5 separate regions of the Homo sapiens genome follow, and all the other regions are linked to region 1. Evidence: promoter capture Hi-C in human tissues and cell types (Jung and others, 2019). All regions are on one chromosome and are shown on one strand. Each heading gives the region's core, a stretch centred on a gene start or on the middle of the fragment in contact. The rest is flanking DNA. Distances are from core to core; before and after follow the strand shown.

Region 1 (2,700 bases), core at 200-2,699:
GGGACCACTTTGAGAACCACTATTCTGAACCATAATTTCTGATTATGAACCCTATTTAAGTCAGCTTAGTTGACACATAAGTTATAGAAGGAAGCAACTTTTAGAATGAGAAATCCTTTCTGCTAGGTTGTAACCAGATTTTTAAAAGGTTTGACTTGAGACTTTAGTTGAATAGACATCTTGTGGAACATACAAATATTAAAAGATGTGGAAAGTGAGGCCAGGAAAGTTGAAGGGAATCAAGCATGGCTAATAGCTATGGGTGGCAGAACAACTGTTGTTATACAACCCAGGGTTTCTGGATTCTCCAGGCAATTTCCAAAGCAGCTTATACATGTAACAAACTTTTCCATGTTGAAATAATCTGGGGATGATGCCACCTATGTTTAATATAAATCAAATGCTGGCAAAACCTTTTTTTTTTTTAAGTGAAAGGTATGTTTTTTAATACTCTTCTACTGACTATGGACAGTCTACTTCAAGCTTTTCCAACCCCGGCCCGCACGTGGCACAGGACGGCTTTGAATGTGGCCCAACACAAATTCGTAAACTTTCTGGAAGCATTATGAGATTCTTTTTTGCGATTTTTTTTAAAGCTCATCGGCTACCTTAGTGTTTGTGAATTTCATGTGTGGCCCAAGACAATTCTTCTTCCGATGTGGCCCAGGGAAGCCAAAGATTGGACACCCTTGGTCTACTTCCAAGAAGCCTACTGCAGTTTCTCGAAAAAAAAAAAACAAACAAAAAAAACTCACAACCAGAAAATCGGACTAGTAAAAGTGTAATTTTAGGCTTAGAAAGAATCTTGGGACAACAGTACTTCACGTTTTTGGAATGTTTCCATCTTTGTGAGGCTAAGTACCGCTTTCTGCATTGTTGTGTACTTTTATCTTCATTCCTGATTCAACTTTCATCAGGCAATTTGAAGTGCTTCACCTAACAAGAAAATTAAAGAGCGATGTGCACCATCTCTGCTGTGCGATTCCAGAGCTGGCGCAGTAATCTAACTGGGTTTTAAGTTTCCCCGTCAGGCGTGACTGGGACTTGGGACATCGCCAAGCGGTCAGCGACGCCCGTCCCAGTTCAGAGGAGCAAGAAAAGCCTGTGAGCTGGGGACACCGATGTGAGAAACAACGCCCGCGTTTCTGAGTAGACAACTCGGGAGCCTGAGGAAGAAAAGCAGGGGCAGGCCGAGTCCATCTGGGGCCCCGCCTCAGACCGCCCCGGGGCCGACAGGGGCGGGCAGGAGACGGGCGAAGAGGCCCTCGGCGGGATGCGCCACACAGGACGCCGCAGGGGCACGGCTGCCAGGGGCCCTGAGGCACTAGGCCCCAGCGCCCTTCTCCTACCTCACGCTGAGGGAAGCGGGCGACAGTTATTCGGGCCCAGGGACGACGCAGCGGTTGGCCAAAGCGCGACGCCGAGCCGTTGCCAAGCGCGGAATCCAAGGAAGCCGCTCCCACAGTCCTCCGCGCGGGGGCGGGCGGGGCCGGAAGCGCGGGGGCGGGAGAGAGCGCGGCGGGAAGGGGGTGGTGCGGGAGGCCTGGGGAAGTGGGTGGGGGCGGAGAACGGCGGGTCAGAGAGAAGGCAGCCCGGTCCCCCTCAGTGGAAGGGAGTGGCGGTGGGCGGAGGGTGTTGAGGGGACGGTGCCAGCGGCTTGCGGGAAGCCGGGCGATGCGGGTAGAACGGTGGAGGAGAGGGCAGGGAGGCCGGGGCCTCCCGTGGAACGGAACCGGGGGGTTGGGAGGCTGGGGGCGGCCTGTGTGAAGGGGGCGGGGAGGGAAAGGCTCGCGGCCAGTAGATGCAGGAGGGAGGAGGGCCTAGAGGGGCTCCGGGCTGGCGGCCTCTGTGAGGAAGGGGAAGGATATGGAACCAAGATCCTTTAAATCCTGATGAACTCATCCGTAAAGCAGATGCCCAAAGGATGATAGTAAGCTTACTGTGACATAACTCCCGGAGCCGCAGCACGAGCCTTGTGAACCTTGGAAGCCCGTTTTCCGCGCAGTCACTAACTCGCTTAGTCACCCTGTGTAAAAGTTATTCTGGGATGACACCTGCCTGGGAAGTCTCACCTTTCCCCCCACCTCCTCCTGTCTGCGTATTGTTCTGTAGCACCCCGTGCGCACCTTGATTGTAGCGCTTAAGGTGTCCGTTTTATTTACTAGACAGGGATTGAACCATTGTGTCCCAACCACCTAGAACCTGGGTCATAGTGTAAAGCTTAATCAATGTAATATAAATGGGGGAATTAAATTCATAATTGTTTAATGTTTAAGTTTTGTCTTAAATTTTAAAAGTAAATGTTGGGGATGGAGGGGAGGGACAGAGGGAGTCTAAAGACACCAGTAATTAATGAGTTTTTATAAAATAAGTAGTGTTGGCCGGGCGCAGTGGCTCATGCCTATAATCCCAGCACTTTGGGAGGCTGAGGCTGGCGGATCACCTGAGGTGAGGAGTTGGAGACCAGCCTGGCCAACGTGGTGAAACCCTGTCTCTACTAAAAATACAAAAATTAGCCCGGCGAGGTGGCAGGCGCCTGTAATAAATCCCAGCTACTCAGGAGGCTAAGGCAGGAGAATCTCTTGAACCCAGGAGGTAGAGGTTGCAGTGAGCCAAGATGGTGGTATTGCACTCCAGCCTGGGTGACAAGAGCGAAACTCCATCCAAAAAAAGAAAAAACATAGTGTTGGGGGACAATTC
Region 2 (2,700 bases), core at 33-2,532, 360 kb before region 1:
TTCAGCTTTTAAAATGTCACCATGTTCTAAAGTTGTCTCTACAAAATTAATGTGTTAATTATTTTGAAGCATCCAGTCAGGCAGAAAGGGTAATTATTGTGCTAACTGGAATCTTCTACTCTAAATTTTAGTAGGTCTATGGGTGCGGTGGCTCACGCCTGTAAGCCCATCAATTTGGGAGGTTGAGGTGGGCAGATTGCTTGAGGTCAGGAATTCAAGACCAGCCTGGCCAACATGACGAAATCCTGTACCTGCTAAAAATACAAAAATTAGCTGGGTGTGGTGGTACGCACCTGTAATCCCAGCTACTCAGGAGGCTGAGGCAGGAGAATCACTTGAACCTGGGAGGCAGAGGTTGCCATGAGCCGAGATCATGCCACTGCACTCCAGCCTGGGAGACAGAGTGAAACTCTGTCTCAAAAAAATAAAATACAGGCCAGGCATGGTGGCTCATGCCTGTAATCCCAGGACTTTGGGAGGCCAAGGTGGGCGGATCATCTGAGGTAAGGAGTTCGAGACCAACCTGGCCAACATGGTGAAACCCCATCTCTACTAAATACAAAAAAATTAGCCAGGCATGGTGGTGGGCACCTGTAATCCCAACTACTCGGGAGGCTGAAGCAGGAGAATCGCTTGAACTGGGGAGGCGGAGTTTGCAGTGAGCCGAGATCACGCCACTGCACTCCAGCCTGGGCAACAGAGCCAGATTCTGTCTCAAAAAAATAAAATAAAATAAAATAAAATAAATACATAAGTAAATTTTAGTAGGTCAAATATATTTTTAAAACTTTATAAGTTTAGGCCAGGTGTGGTGGCTCACACCTGTAATCCCAGCACTTTGGGAAGCTGAGGTGGGAGGATCAACTGAGCCCAGGAATTCAAGACCAGCCTGGGCAATGTAGGGAGACCCCATCTCTATAAAAAATATTTTTAAAAATTAACCAGGTGTGGTGGCACACACCTATGGTCCCAGCTACTCAAGAGGCTGAAGTAGGAGGATTGCTTGCACCCAAGAGGTTGAGGCTGCAGTGAACTATGATCGCATCACTGCACTCTATCCTGAGCGACAGAGCGAGACCCTGTCTCAGGGCAGCGCAGGGCAGGGAATCAATCTCACACTTTTACCTCATCATTTATAGATGTAAATGATATTTAGGAAAAATAAAAGAGAAAAATTTCCTTAGCTCATCAAAAAGCCTTATAACGTTTAGTCCTTGGACAATCAGAGATTTCAAGTGCTATAGGAATCAATGTGATTTTTAAATTTTTAATTACATTTTAAATTTAATTAATTTTAAGTAGTTTTTAAATTTAATTAAATTTTAAATATTTTTTAAATTTAAATTTTTAAATTTAATTAAATTTTAAATTTTTCATGTGATTAAAAAAATTTTAACAACAAGTGATTGTTTTTTCAAAGTCTGAAGAAGAAGCTAATGTTATGTGACATTTTCTTGTGTAAGTTTCAATGATGTTTACAATTTGTCTTTGATGATTGTGCTTTATTTCTCCACGTGGGGATCTTGTTCCTTATCTTAGTGAACTGAAAAGAGTTTGAATTGGTATTGTCAAGGCATAGATTTAGTAAACCCCAGCTTCTCAGTTCCAGTAGAGAAAGTGAGCAAATGAGGAACTCAATAACTGGTGCTAAAGATAAAAATAATTTAAAGAAATTTCCCTCAAAACATTATTATTTTAGGCCGGGCATGGTGGCTCATGCCTGCAATCCCAGCACTTTGGGAGGCCAAAGTGTACGGATCACTGGAGCTCAGGAGACCAGCCTGGGCAACATGGTGAAACCCCATCTCTACAAAAAAAAAAAAATACAAAAAATTGGCCAGGTGCGGTGGCTCACGCCTGTAATCCCAGGACCTTGTGAGGCCGAGGTGGGTGGATCACGCAGTCAGGAGATCGAGACCATCCTGGTCAGCACAGTGAAACCCTGTCTTTACTAAAAGTTCAAAAATTAGCCAGGCGCGGTGGCGCACACCCATAGTCCCAGCTACCCAGGAGGCTGAAGCACGAGAATCATATGAACCCAGGAGGCGGATGCTGCAGTGAGTTGAGATCGCACCACTGTACTCCAGCCTGGGTGACAGAGCAAGACTCTTGTCTCAAAAAAAGAAAAAAAAAGTTAGCTGGTCATGGTGGTGCACACCTGTGGTCCCAGCTAGTGGGAAGACTGAGGTGAGGATTGTTTGAGCCCAGGAGGTAGAGGTTGCAGTGAGCCGAGATTGTGCCCCAGCCTGGCAACGAGATTGTACTCCAGCCTGGGCAACAGAGTGAGATCCTGTCTTAAAACAACAACAACCAAGAAAACACACATACATTATTATTTTAATTTTTTTTTTTTTGAGACGGAGTTTCGCTCTTGTTGCCCAGGCTGGAGTGCAATGGCATGATCTCTACTCACTGCAACCTCTGCCTCCCAGGTTCAAGCGATTCTCCTGCTTCAGCCTCCCAAGTAGCTAGGATTGCACCACCATGCCCAGCTAATTTTGTATTTTTTTTAGTAGAGACAGGGTTTCTCCATGTTGGTCAGACTGGTCTCGAACTCCCGACCTTGGGTGGTCCGCCCGCCTCAGTCTCCCAAAGTGCTGGGATTACAGGTGTGAGCCATGCCCAGCCTATTATTCATTTTTTTAAAGAGACACTGTCTTCCTGTCACCTAAGCTAGAGTATAGTGGTGCAATCATAGCT
Region 3 (2,700 bases), core at 141-2,640, 340 kb before region 1:
CCCAGGCTGGAGTGCCGTGGTGTGATCTCGCCCCACTGCACTCTCGACCTCCTGGGCAATCCTTCCGCTTCAGCCTCCCGAGAAGCTCGGACCACAGGCGCAAGACACCACACCGGGCTTTTTTTTTTTTTTTTTTTGGTAGAGACAGGGTCTCACGATGTTGCCCAGGCTGGTCTCGAACTCCTGAGCTAAAATGAGGCCTGCCTTGGCCTCCCAAAGTGCTGGGATTACAGGCATGAGCCACAGCGCCTGGCCGACAAAGCTCATCTTACTGCATTTGAGAAGCCAGGTAGTCAAGGTCAGGCTTTCCTGTCCCTGCTTTCTCCCTCTCCTATGTGAGCCAGCCCTTAAAGAGTGAAAACGGCAAGAGCCAAAGACGGGTTTTCCTCCTAGGGTCTCCTAGCGACCCGCTGCCCAGATACATTTGGATGATTGTCCTGCAGAAGGCCAAAGCCCTCCATTATGAAAACGAAGCGTTCGGCCGGGGGCGGTGGCTCACGCCTGTAATCCCAGAACTTTGGGAGACCGAGGCGGGCGGATCACCTGAGGTCAGGAGTTCGAGACCAGCCTGGCCAACATGGTGAAACTTCGTCTCTACTAAAAGTACAAAAATTAGCCGGGCGTGGTGGCGGGCGCCTGTAATCCCAGATACTCAGGAGGCTGAGGCAGGGGAATCGCTTGAACCCGGGAGACGGAGGTTGCAGTGAGCCGAAATAGGGCCATTGCACTCCATCCTGGGCGATAGAGTGAGACCCTGTCTCCAAAAAAAAAAAAAAAGAAAGAAAGAAAACGAAGCGTTCTATCCTGGAATGTTCTCCCATGGCAAGAAGGAACAGAGAAGCAGGAGACAGAGATACTTTGAAAGGAGGTGCGCTCTGAGGAGGGGAAAGCGGGAAGAGCGATTCCAAGTTTAGGAAATCCTGCACGGCGCTGGAGCGTGGAAGGGCAAGGAGGAGCCAGGGGAGGCGGTGTGCAGGGCTGAGAACGGAGGGAGCGAACTGGCGTCGTGGATCTGCGGGTCCCCGGGCGGGCTGTACTAGGGTAGTGGGGAGAGGGCCGGGGGCACCGCGAGGCCGGGGCGCCGGACACCACGCATGCGCGGGGCTGGGAGCTTAGCGGGGCGCGCGGCTGCAGCAGTCTGGGCAGACCGCCTCGGCCTCGCCCGGTGCCGGCTGCGGCCGCCCCCGCCCCAGCGCGGCGGCCGGGCTCACACTAGTCCCCTCCCAGCCACCCGGAACCCGGCAGCCCGGCCAGACCCGCCGAGGCCGCGACGCCGGTGTCGACAGCGGCTGCGACGGCCCTGGGAGCGCGTGAGGCTCCGGGGTCGCGGCGGCGATTGGCCGGCCGCGGCGCCCGCTCCCAGAATGCAGCGCATGGCGCGTCATTGAAGAGAGACCATGATGGCGGCGGCGCTGGGGCCCCCAGAAGTGATCGCTCAGCTGGAGAACGCGGCTAAAGTTCTGATGGTGAGGACGCCGCGCCCCTCAGACCCCGGGATTCGCGGGCCCCCGGTCGGCCCTGCCACTCCAGGCCTTGCTGCTCGCTGGGCTGGCGACTGGCAAGGGCCTGCAGGGAGCCTGGAAGTGGAGGAGGAGGTGGCGGTGGCGTGGCGCAGGATTCTTCAGCCTACTTTCCTCCTGCCGTCGTCCCCTCCTTCCAGGAGCTGTCCCCTTCCCCTGGCTGCCCAGCACCCCAGTCGGGCGTGGGAATATAGTGGTGTAGCAAAGAGAATTTCTTCACCTTACACCCTGCCCCACAGACTGGGTCGCAGAGCAAGGCGCCGGGAAGGAGTTGGGGTTATCCCCGCAGGGCTTCGGTAGGGGAAATTTGTAGGGCTGTGTGAGCGCTCTTGGGGAGTTGGTGTCGGGAGGGATTGGATGGCACAGCCTGGGTGCTGTTAGCAACCCTTGTTTCCTGTGCATTCGCATCCTCTAGCGCTTCCCTGACATGCAGCCACCTCTGGAGTAATTGCAGCCGGCAGCACGTGGAAGGGCCGGGCCGGCTGGAGGGAGGGAGGGGAATCGTTGAGACCAAGGTCATTGGGGCAAAACTTGGTCTAGTGCTAAGCTCCTTAAAGCTCCCGCGATTTGGAGAACTGAGTCTATGCTACTCTTTGACTTCATGCTTACACTACAATAAGCAGTTTGATGAGATTGTTTACTAAGGGAATTTGAGAAGGCCGAGTCAAAGGATAAAAGTATTACATGCAAGGAGGAGAAGTAAGGATAAACTACGTTCAGTTAGTAAACAGTGTTTCTATTTGCTGGCTCAGCTTTGTTTTTGCAAATTATGACTTCGGTGTTTGTAGATGTTTTGGGAAGTTAGAGGTTCATTTGATACCTGGATTGATTCAGACTTTCTAAGAATTGGATACAGCCAGCTTTGTTACCTTTTTGGACTTTTTTCCTTTTGGTTTGGTGTTAGGGTGTTTGAGCATCACATTTGAGAATATTCGAACTAATTCTAGCGTAGTTTGTAGTTCTAATATTTTACACCAGATATTTTTGTTTCTTTAGAAATCGAGAAGTCTAATAAAAGCAGGATTTACTTGCTTCATTATGAATATTAACTTAATGTACGTTTTGTCACAAAACAGACTAGTGAAGGTTTTCACACTTTTGCAAATTAAGCAGAAGTAACTAGCTAGTATTCCCCTTAATAAAAGATTCTTAAAAATCCCTGACATAGAGCGTTTTGTAA
Region 4 (2,700 bases), core at 79-2,578, 280 kb before region 1:
ACATCAGAAGCATTTCTGAACAGAGATGTTGCAGTTGGTGGGTGGGTATGACAGTGTTCAGCTGTTGGATAAGCTTGCATAAATAGTATCATCTTGACTTTAATCTTTCGGTTGTTCAGAGGTAGTGTGCATATTTCTGTTTAACTCCTGGAAAGTTGCCAAAATAATTTGTATCCTCTTTCCATCCTTTGTACCTTGACTGTTTTAGTCTGGGAATAAAATCAATGAGTTGATATTAGGAGCCTGTTGGATAGAACCAATGAGAAGAAAAATCTTCATTTTTCTATTTAAAAAACTTTTGGGTATTACCTGGCTATAATATTTTGGACACTATAAAATCTGTTTCACTTTTCATCTATTTGGGAATGCATTTTACAAACAGAACGGGGTCAAACATGGGTTGAAATCTCAGCTGGCCTTAGATAAGTACTCCAGGTCACTTCTCTCAAATGTAAAATGAGGATATAGGTTGTTCTGCGAATTAAACAAAATAATACCTTCAACATTTATTATTTTTAAATATCATTTGAATTCCACTATTGAGTAGGAACAGTGTGTCCTGAGTTCAAGTCTTAGATGGATTTGTATAACTGCATTTGAGGAAGTACTATTAACACTGACCAGACCACTTAGAAAGGAGAGCTAATATTTATTTTGTCATATCTGATTTTCTGACTAGTTGTTATAAGATCTAAAGATACAGTGGAAGATCTAAAGTTAGGGAGAAAATGTTCTATTATGTTTGAACAAATGCATTGAAACAAAGCGTTGAAACAGTAATGCCTCACAATTATTTCTTATCAAATAATTACAGCAAACTCTGGCCTGTTCTATTCTGACTGCGCTATTGAGTGAATTTTCAAGTTCAAGTAAAACTAGCAACATTGGATTGAGCATGGAATTCCATGGTAACTGCAAAAGAGTTTTTCAGGTATTGGTAGTTTTGTTCTTGAGTTTTAATTATTGGATCATTCACTTTTTACTCAATCTATTCCTAATGACATGAGAATATTTATTTTATGTAGTTGAATGGTAGCCTGTACTTCAGGATTTGTTTTGTGATTTCAAAGGATATAGTAAAATGATAGGTTTGGTGAATGTAGTTGATGGTTTAAAATTACTTGTTTAATTCTAGTCTTAAAAACAATACTTCTATAAAGATCTTTAGTTTATTATTTATTTCTTATTGTGTTTAGATATAACTAATTCAATTGAAGGGACTCTGCTGGCCTTAAAAATAGGTCTGGAAGAATGCCAGAAGGCCGTGTATTTCAAATGTTATTGCAGATGGTGCGGGCTCTTTGTCTTGTATGTATTGTTTGGCTCTGGAGTAAAGTTATGTGAAGGCATTGGCTTAAATCCTAGGGCTCTGCACTATAGCAACTGACTCCTCTGGCTCCGCAGTAGTTGTCAAAGACTCTCTTCTCTATGGAAGTAGCATTTATATTCAAGTAAAAGTATTCCATCTGGCGTCACTTGAAAGCATACTGCGATGTAAATTACAAGTAGAGGCCTAAAAATGGAACACGTTCTTAAGGAAATGGTGTTTTCCATTGGAAATTTTAAGGTGTTTGTTTTGTTTCATGATTCTAAAAGGGGATACATTTTGAATAAATTTTTCATATAAAATATTTGTGATTTATTGACTATAGGAAGAAGACCTTCGTCAGATCTTCATGTTAACTGTTGAAGTTCTGCAGGAGTTCAGCAGGCGGGAAAACCTCAATGCTCAGATGTCTTCAGTATTTCAGCGTTACCTTGCACTCGCCAATCAAGTCTTGAGCTGGAACTTTCTTCCTCCAAATTATATCCTTTTAACAAATGAATAGTTTATCTGTGGTAATTTTCATAGGTGACTTAATTACAGCTCGGAGTCTTTCACCTCTGCAGCTTTCATAAAACATATTGAAAGAAAATAAGATTTTTTTTAAGAAATAGAATTTAATTTCTTTATAATGCCAAAAGACAGTGGATACTAGGATAATACTAGAAGATTTAAAAGTATTTACTCCTTTGTAGAAGAAGTTTGAATACATAGAAACGTGGTGGATGACGGAGCTGTTGCTAATTCAGGATTAGCATTATTCTTTGGGAAGGAAAAGGAAACAGGTAGAAATTACCTTTTAAGAAACCGAATCATTTTTTCCTTGGACAAGTAATTATGTTTGATTTTTTTGACTGACTTAAAGCTAGTTTGGAGTGCTCTAATTTAATCTTTATGGATGGTGATGTTGTTCAAGTATAGGTAATAAGTTAGTAATATGTTTACTCTTCAAGGGCCTTTACCAGTATAAAAAAATGAGAATTTTGTTTTTAGGAAATTATTCAAAAGTTTAAGTGGGTTGTATTATCAATGCATATATCTGCTTTTTAAATTAGTTACTTAAAGTAGAGAAATTTGTATTTCATAAACTTTAAGGAACTGCTGTCTCATTTACTATGCTGGGACATCTGCTGCCCGTTGATAGTAATATACAGTGACTACCCATTTGTTGTGTAAAGTCCAATAGATCTGGATTCAAGGCTCTGCTCATCTTAGGCAAATCACCTGAACCTCTCTGAGTCTCAGCTTTTCCAAATGTAAAATGGGGGTATGGATTGTTGTGTGAATTAAATGAAACAATACATTTAAAACACTCAGGAGTTAGTTACTATTTATTGAGCTCTTAATAGCCTCCGTGAATTAAATAGTTCATTATA
Region 5 (2,700 bases), core at 82-2,581, 490 kb after region 1:
GATTTCTTTGGGACTATACATGAGAAAACTAGAGTTCCCTAAATAATTTTGGAACATCTGTAAAGAGCAGTACTGAATGATAAAAATGTAACATGTTATACATTTAACTTTATTCTAGTAGCCACATTTTAAAAGTTAAAAAGTATAATATTTTACTTAACCCAATATATCCAAAACATGTAATCCCAACATATAATATAAAAATATTTAACATTTTAAAAATACCAATTCTTTGAAATCTTGTATATATTTTATACTCAGAACACTTCTCATTTCAGACTACCCACATTTCAAAGGCCCTGTTTCTTATGGATAAAAAATGCTTTGTAGGGCAAAGCAGCACGTTGACAGATATCTACTTAAACAGAAATTATGGTACTAGTACTTGAGAAGCAAAATGAAAATCTCATAAAACACAGCTAACAGAGAGTTGAAAAGCATGTATTTTAGATATGTTCAGACTATTGGCATGTTTGTTCAGACAAGTATTGTCACTAATATGACAAACATATGGTCAAATGTTTCGGAGAGCTAGCTAAAGCAAGAAACACTGTGTGCAAACAATATACATAACAATTTATAAAATTAAATATTGGGAATATAAGACATTCATAATTTGAGGGCTATTAGATAGATTCTACTTCTAAGTCTCTCAAATCAGTTGTTTTATTAAACGTTATATGAATAAAGCTTCATTAATAATAATATAAAATAATCCACCATTAATTTAAGCTATCAATCAGTAGTTCTGCACAATAATTTGTGTTTCAATGAAAATATTCCAGCTTTCAGATGCTACGCCCAAGAAAAAAAAAATTTCAAGTATCATCTTTAAAAATACTTAAAACTGGCCAGGTGCAGTGGGGCTCACGTCTGTAATCCCAGCACTGTGGGAGGCCGAGGCGGGTGGATCATGAGGTCAGGAGATCGAGACCATCCTGGCTAACACAGTGAAACCCCGTCTCTACTAAAAATACAAAAAATTAGCCGGGCGTGGTGGCGGGCGCCTGTAGTCCCAGCTATTCGGGAGGCTGAGGCAGGAGAATGGCGTGAACCCAGATCACACCACTGCACTCCAGCCTGGGTGACAGAGCAAGACTCCCTCTCAAAAAAAAAAAAAGAAAAAAACTTAAAACCTTTTCATGTTTCTCCCTGGATAAAGATGAAATCTAAACATTTTATCAAGGAATAGAGGCCTTTGTGGTATGACTCTTACTTACCGCAGCCCTCAGCCTCAATACCCCAAAGCTTTCTCCACTTCACATTATACATTCCAGCCAGGCTAAGTAGTTCCTGGTAAACTGTGCCCTTGTACTGCCATTGTCCCTCTCTCATCCCTTTGCTGAATAAATTTCTATATGTACTTCAAAACTCAATTTAAAATTTAAAACTCAATGTCATCTAAATTCCTATACTTTTTCATTGTATATACTTAGGTAGAATTAATTAGTCCCAATTCTGTGTTACCAAGTCTGTATACAACACGAGCATAACATTATTTAAATATTATTTGTCTGTGTATTTCAACTCTTTCAGTGGAACATATTGTAATGGCTTTTAATTCAAACTGCTCACCAGATTCAAAATTTATGAGCTGTGTAACTTGGGCAAGTAACTTTACTTCCTCATAAAAAAATGCTGATAATTATAGTAAAGTTGTTGAGAGGACTGAATGACACATCAAGCACGTAGCATAGTATGTGGAAAGCAGTAAACAGTCAGTAAATGTAAGTTGTCAACATGCTTATCTCAGTCTCCAAAGCCTACTCCAATGTCCAGTATCCAGCATACAACAGCACTTAATGTTTGCTAAATTAACCAATGAAAGAAGGTTTCAAATAGCCTGAATCAACCTCATCACTGCTATTAAAAAATAAAGAGGCCAGGCGTGGTGGCTCACGCCTGTAATCAAGAGAACGAGACAAACCTGGCCAACACGGTGAAACCCTGTCTCTACTAAAAACACAAAAATTAGCTGGGCATGGTGGCCTGTAGTCCCAGGTACTCGGGAGGCTGAGGCAGGAGAATCACTTGAACCTGGGAGGCGGAGATGCGGTGTGCCGAGATCGCACCACTGCACTCCAGCCTGGGTGACAGAGTGAAACTCCGTCTCAAAAAAAATAAAATAAAATAAAAAATAAATCTTAAATTCCTCTGAATAAGGATTAAATAAGCTTAGAAATCCTCTATGTATTTTAATAGAATTTAATTATTTGAAAACTACCCATTTACATACAAATTAAATTAACAAGCCACACTGTGAGTTTACTATATTTTTTAATTTAGTAAATAAAGTTCTTTCTTCTTAAAAAACACATCCCTCCATATAAAAGACTTAACATGTAGAAAGTAAAAAATAAAAATTCTGGAGAAAAATTTGGAAAAATGACAAAGACTTACTGTCTATAATAAACAAGAAACTCACAAACTAAAAAAGATAAACGATGGGGCAATTCACAGAAAAGCAAATGGTCAATAAACACAAAAAGATCCTCAAACATTTTGGGAAAGAAATCTGTTAATATCTTTAAAAATAAAAAATATACTTTTCTTGAGATCCAATAATACCCCTTCTGGAATCATATCTCAGAAACAAATGCATCAGTTCTTTAGGATAATTATAGAAGATTTGTGTGGGGCAGGAGGGGAGCAGAGGAGGAAGGAAAGTATACACTGTCTATAACAGCAAAATTTCATAAA

Evidence for each region. The method cuts DNA at HindIII sites, captures the fragments that hold promoters and counts their contacts. A contact is called where the count stands out against the background at its distance.
Region 2: a contact is called between a fragment that was not itself captured here and the fragment with the promoter of IFT88 in region 1, in 1 of the 25 tissues and cell types used here (mesenchymal stem cells).
Region 3: a contact is called between the fragment with the promoter of XPO4 here and the fragment with the promoter of IFT88 in region 1, in 1 of the 25 tissues and cell types used here (mesenchymal stem cells).
Region 4: a fragment that was not itself captured here is called in contact with the fragment with the promoter of IFT88 in region 1 in 2 of the 25 tissues and cell types used here (lymphoblastoid cells and spleen).
Region 5: a fragment that was not itself captured here is called in contact with the fragment with the promoter of IFT88 in region 1 in 3 of the 25 tissues and cell types used here (hippocampus, mesenchymal stem cells and stomach).

What each region holds. Positions count from the first base shown.
Region 1 is chr13:20,565,906-20,568,605 of GRCh38, reverse strand. IFT88 (intraflagellar transport 88) reads right to left here and starts at 1,449. Exons shown (of 26, transcript NM_006531.5): 1 at 1,350-1,449. LOC105370103 (a long non-coding RNA gene) reads left to right here and starts at 1,577. Exons shown (of 6, transcript XR_941725.3): 1 at 1,577-1,930. RefSeq lists silencers at 1,056-1,244, 1,340-1,749. The HindIII fragment of the contact is 1,600 bases long and covers 1,210-2,700 here.
Region 2 is chr13:20,926,689-20,929,388 of GRCh38, reverse strand. No RefSeq gene overlaps it. Among named protein-coding and RNA genes, the nearest start is that of LINC00367, 21 kb to the left of the region's middle. The HindIII fragment of the contact is 5,494 bases long and covers 1-2,700 here.
Region 3 is chr13:20,901,436-20,904,135 of GRCh38, reverse strand. It overlaps XPO4 (exportin 4), which reads left to right and starts at 1,390. Exons shown (of 23, transcript NM_022459.5): 1 at 1,390-1,466. The coding sequence starts at 1,398. RefSeq lists a silencer at 988-1,367 and an enhancer at 1,578-1,627. The HindIII fragment of the contact is 40,685 bases long and covers 1-2,700 here.
Region 4 is chr13:20,842,001-20,844,700 of GRCh38, reverse strand. XPO4 (exportin 4) reads left to right here. Exons shown (of 23, transcript NM_022459.5): 5 at 815-931; 6 at 1,653-1,806. Among named protein-coding and RNA genes, the nearest start is that of XPO4, 59 kb to the left of the region's middle. The HindIII fragment of the contact is 4,157 bases long and covers 1-2,700 here.
Region 5 is chr13:20,076,268-20,078,967 of GRCh38, reverse strand. The region is part of intron 21 of ZMYM2 (zinc finger MYM-type containing 2); the gene reads right to left. Among named protein-coding and RNA genes, the nearest start is that of LINC01072, 25 kb to the left of the region's middle. The HindIII fragment of the contact is 4,922 bases long and covers 1-2,700 here.